2 separate regions of the Homo sapiens genome follow, and region 1 is linked to region 2. Evidence: promoter capture Hi-C in 16 types of primary human blood cells and fetal thymus (Javierre and others, 2016). All regions are on one chromosome and are shown on one strand. The core of a region is centred on a gene start or on the middle of the fragment in contact, and the rest is flanking DNA. Distances in the headings are between cores, read along the strand shown.

Region 1 (2,707 bases), core at 134-2,633, 220 kb after region 2:
GGTGCGGCTAGTGAAGCAGTGACCCTAGGGGGCAGTCTGGCCTTCAATAGACTTCACCAGGTTACTTGCTGACAGGGGAAACATCCCCAAGACAGGAGCCTGGGACTACCCAGCTGGACTGGCAATTCCCAGATGCACTTTTCTTGGGACATTCCACCCACACAGTCAGCAGAAACAACAGAAATCAGTGAAGGGGACGGGAAACTCTGGGTGGGGCAAGGGCTTAGGGAGACACAGCCTAACAAAGAAGACAAACCACCAATAGCACGTGCACTACACACAAGAGTATAATATGTATGAATATAGATACTATATGTGCATATATATCTCTTCGATGTACAATGGAACAGAACATCAGACCCAGATGGCTCTGGGCCCCGAGGGTCGCATGGGAGATTTTCCACCAGTCCTGTGCAAACAAGGATATCTGAGTCTTTCCCAGCGAAAAGATTCTTGTCTGGGTTCCAGAGTTTCCCTAAGCCTCTGGCTTTCTGTCTGTCTGCCTGTCTCTCTCACGTTGGTGCCGCTTTAAGAGAGGGTGAGGACTTCAGCCTGGGCATAGTTGGACGAGAGGGCGTCTTGGCAGGTCTCTGTGTTTAAAGAGCACAGGTGTGAGACACTGGGACGCACGCTTTCGGCTCAACATTGCCTTCTGGGGTTGGGGGGACAGGGAGTTCAGCAAAAGAAAGGGAGAAACAAAGAATGAGACGTTAGAAGGAAGCCAGCTGCTGACCCACAGGGTGTGGGCTAAGGAGTAGACCAGGAGCAGAGCTGGAAGGCATGAGGAACCCAGGGCTAAAAGGCCAGGAAGAGCATGGATGGGTCAGGGAATGGGGTGAACCCTTCACCCCTCTGCCAACCCAACTCTGGTGACTCAGGTGATGTTGTAGCTCATCGCCATACCTGTTCAGGTAACCACTAGCTCCAGGAACCACTAGCCTCTTAGGTCTTCAAAGCTCCAGTGCAGTGGAGAAAGGGACCATAGCTCTGCAGCCTTGCATGGAGGCAGTGGGGAAAGTTCCTGATGTGGCCTGTGGCTCACAGGCCATCACCCCAGCTGTTGCCTGACCAACTTGAGCTCTCCCCCAAGTAGCTCCATCTGCTGTCACCACCCTGGGATATTCCATTGTCCCAAGGAGCTGGTGAAGAAGGCTCCTGAGTATGATGCCATGTCGTGCCCAGCCCCCTTCCTCAATGTGGCAGGAACAGAGTCCCAGCAGTTGGAGGGCATGCAGCCTCAGGTGAATGCTGAAGGGGAAGGTCACGGAGGACGAATGTGCCTGTCTCAGGAGAGAAGGTCAGGAAATAGTACCTTATTGAGAAACCCAACCCCTCAGAGAGCCCTTTTGGGATCCCACCCTCAGCCTGGGATGTCTACCACCTGGGCCTTTCCTTCCCCTACCTTACCAGTGGGAGCACAGGTAGGGCAGGTAGGAGTACTGCTGTCCCAGCTGCAGATCTGGGTCAACAGTGGAGGTGGGAGTTCCAGACCCGCTGGGACAACCCCTGCAGCTCTCGGGTCTGAGGTCTAGGGCTAGGCCTCCTGTCAAGGTGGAGTGCAGATGTGGCATCCAGACCTCACAGCTTCCATCCTGGGCTTCGGGGTGCCTCCATCACCTTTCTAGGGAAGGGGTGTCCTCATCTTGGGGTGATGCTGTTTCCATCTTCTTAAGACTGTATGCCCCAGCCACCTCCTTAAACACTGCCCCTTTGCCTACAAGTGTTCTGGGCCTCTGAGTACTATCCTTGAAATCAGAGGAATTCAGGGTTCTTCAGAGCCCCATTTCTGAGGACACGCAGACAGAGCTGTGGTCTTGCCCTGTACTCCTGTCTGCGTAACTTAAGCAACACCTGCCACTGATCCCCACTCATTAGGGGACAGGGAAGTGCCTCTGGGCTCCCAGTAGGCAATTAGGCCCTAAGATGCACCGGTGAGAATGCCTGGGCTACTGAGGGGTCTAGGATGGGTCTAGGATGAGACAGAAGGAGTCACAGCAAGGCTGTCAAGTGTCCCAGAAGCCAGGGAGCAGAGCAGCCCATACTGAGATAATGGCCTTAGATTGCTTTTCCACTGGCTTCCATGGACTCTCCATCCTCAGGGACCTCTGAGAGTTGGGGAGGGGTCTTCCTAGGAATCTCATCCTGGATTCTTACCTATTTGACCCACCAGGGGTGGGGCAGGGATTTCAGAGGGTGACGCTGGCCAGAGCAGAGCAGGCCCTCCTCTCCCAGGAAGCTCTGTGAAAGGGCAGCCTGGGCCCTGCAGCCAGTCCATGGCCTCCCCTCTGGCTCCTGTCAGCCAGCTTCTAGGTTGCAGTGCCCTTCCTTCTGGTTCTACCTCTCAGAAGCCCTGAAAATTGGTCTCTAGGTTGCCAGTAACCCTGCTACAGACTGGAAGGCGAGGTTGTGAACTCCTACCCAGACTGCCTCCCAGTTCTGTGGGAAGGGGCTGAGCTCCAGCTGCAGGGGAAAGGCATCTGACAACAAAGTAGTGGGTGCAGGTCCAAGTCTAGCCCAAGGAAAACAAACTCTACTCTCAGATGGTGGGTGGGAGAGAGCCTTCTCTCAAGGAGGGAGGCTCAAGGCCTGGGTGAGCCTGACGCCTGTACAGGCAGCCACTTCCTGTGGCAGTGCCTGGTATGCAGGGGTTCTGCAAATGCCTGGGCTCACCCTGCCCTTTCCCAGGGCCCTGGGCAGGCCCAGAGGT
Region 2 (2,776 bases), core at 52-2,551:
CATTGTTCTTGCCCTCCCAGATTTTCAAGCTACCCCATAGAAGGGCAGCCTACAGTGTAAACACTTCATTAGGTATAATTCTGCCTTCACAATTATTTTTATTTTTGCTTTGGATCTCAAAAGCATTTGACTCGCCTTTAATATTTGTTCTTTTGAACTCAGTGTTTTTCCTTTAAAAGAGAAAAGAAAGAATTTGTCCTTTCTGTGAATGGTAAAATTAACCCAATTCCAGGAATTGTTTGGCATTTCTCTACATTTCCACTATCCATGTAAAAAGCTGGTGGAGGCTGAACTAAAAGTTAGTTTCCCTGCTTCCCCGACCTTTTTCTTCCAGTGGATTTTATATGGAAAGCTCTCAGGTACAGCATTGCTTTCTGCTTCAGTAAGAATGGTCCTGCTACCATAACACATCATGTGCCCCTATTTGAAGGTGGTTTGAGGTAAAAGCAAACTTCCGAGAGAAAACCATGATCTGAATATTTTGAACCAATTGTACAGTGCCCATATGCTGAACCTTTGCTTCTCTGCTTCGAGACTGGATATCTACTTGTTATCTGGATGCTTGCTTTGGGGTACACTCAGCTGAATGTTAGTGGCACCCATATTCCTCTCAGAACTAACTAGGCAGGCACAGAGTGAAAGAGTTTCAAAGATATCCTTTCTAAGCGGAGGTTAAGTTTATACAATAGAAGTTTATAAGCTTACCACCTTTAATTAAGCTTACTGCCTTTAATTAAGTCAACATGCTATGTAAATTAATATTAATATTAATATGTGAATCAGACCATAAATAAAAATTAAAATTCACACAAAAGATAAGTTAAGGTTTGCCAATCCACTTTATAAAGGAATTCCTTATTACTTAATAGGAATCTTCACTTTACCAAAGGACTGAACTTCAAAATGTTCAATGCTCTGCTAACACATTGAAAACAGGATTTGATTCATACACAGCTTCTCAAAAGCAGATCCCATTTAGTAGAGTGAGGTCTAACTAGTCTGAAAATCGCATGCAATCCCTTTAATGCATAATTCCCCATTCCCTTTGGTTCACACTGTGTTGAGCCAACAGAGCCTCCTGCATGGTTCCTGGGCTCACAACCCGTGCAGACCCTGACATCTTCCCAAAACCCAAGGCACAGAGAATGTTAGGCGACTTACCCCTGTGATCACAGCACAGTCAGACACAGTTACTAGGAGGAGCATGATTGAGACTCGCGTGGCACCTCTCATGGTCACTTGGGGTGAAGGCAAAACACTGCCTGCTTAGATGCCTCTCGCTTCCTCCCGCTCAGCCTTGTGCCTGGCAAGCTGGGGAGGCCAGGCTCTCCTGCATCCCCCGCCTCCTCCCAGATGTTTACACTCAGGATCCAGGGCTGCCTGTGGATGCCTCATCTCTGCTCTTCCCTTCTCCAACACCGATGTTACTCAGATGATCTCAGAAGCGAAGATGAGACCTGAATCTCTAACAACATCAAATCAACATCAAAACCAATAAAAATGGATACTTGGGGGGCTTTGACGGTTGCTCTAACTCTCCCAAGAACGCAGTGATTCAGACAGTTATGTATATTTCACTCAATGTTCTTTTCTGCCTCTGGGTATCCTTCTATCCTACTTGGGGCAGAGGAAAGCCTCTGGTAATGAATTAAGGGATTTGCAACATCACCATTTATGCTTCCCTGCACCAAACTATGCAACATACAAGATTATTGGTTCCCTCTCACTCACACCAAGACTTATCTAGGCATTTACCATGGGCTCAACACAGAGGTAGCTGAGAAGACAGAAGAGGGTGAGGTGGTATCCTTATTTCTCTAAAAGGTTAAAATTATAGTGAGGAGCCATAAGACAGTGAGGAAAAAAAGACCAGACTTGTGGGGCTGATGTTCCTAAGTGACACACACATAAGGATTTGCTCTCTCATGGGCTCAGGATGAACACCAGCAAGTGTCCCTTGGTACAATGACCCAAGGGCAGAAAGCCAGCAAACATACAGGGCACACACTCTCTCAGTACCCTGCAGAGCCGAGCTGGTATGGGCTGTGGCTGAAAGGTACCAGAGCCACACCACTGGCCTTCCAGTTTTAGGGGTGAGCATGAGAGTGGCCTTATCCGTGAGTGTATAAACACGGTGGTCTCAGATGCCAGTCTGGTGGGAAGTTGACTTTCGGGATGGCCCCTCCGCCTGTGAGGGAAGCCCCTGACCCCAGCCCTCTCTGTGTCATACGACCCAGAGAGAGCTCCCAGTGCTTTGTCAGATGATCTGCCTTCTCTCCACAGTAATAAAAGCCAACATTTCCCAAGGTATGTGTTGCAATATGTTAATACACAAATAAACAAATAAAAGACTTCTACAGTCAAAAATTTGGGAAACACAAACCGGCTTGTTTTTTGCAGAACTTTTCAGGGCCTTTCATATGCTAATAAGTGTTTGAAACACCAAGTGGGAAATGCAGTTTGTAGTATTTCACAAGCAGATTCATCCACAAAACCTTTCTTATCAAATGTCACAGGGGTCTAGGGTTTCCACATTGAAACGCTGATAGGCATTTATGAGTGCAGAGAGGAAGGTTAACTAGCACGGGAGCTGGGAGCTAAGCCCCCAGAGGCAGATGCTTTGATTCAGATCGATGGCTTCATGACCTTGAAAATATTGCTAATCTCTCCAAGCCTCAGTTTTCCTATCTATAACATGGGATAAGAATAGCATTTACATCATACGATTTTGCGAGTATTCATCTATTTATTTATTCATTGACTATATTTATTGAGA

The links. Contacts are between HindIII fragments. The CHiCAGO score rates a contact against its expected background, and 5 or more counts as called.
Region 1: a contact is called between a fragment that was not itself captured here and the fragment with the promoter of PROK1 in region 2, in 1 of 17 cell types (neutrophils). The highest score is 7.2, in neutrophils.

Annotation. Positions count from the first base shown.
Region 1 is chr1:110,230,794-110,233,500 of GRCh38, reverse strand. It overlaps KCNC4 (potassium voltage-gated channel subfamily C member 4), which reads right to left. Exons shown (of 4, transcript NM_001039574.3): 4 at 1-590. The coding sequence ends at 529. Among named protein-coding and RNA genes, the nearest start is that of KCNC4, 22 kb to the right of the region's middle. The HindIII fragment of the contact is 6,522 bases long and covers 1-2,707 here.
Region 2 is chr1:110,449,674-110,452,449 of GRCh38, reverse strand. It overlaps PROK1 (prokineticin 1), which reads right to left and starts at 1,301. Exons shown (of 3, transcript NM_032414.3): 1 at 1,162-1,301. The coding sequence starts at 1,233. The HindIII fragment of the contact is 11,265 bases long and covers 722-2,776 here.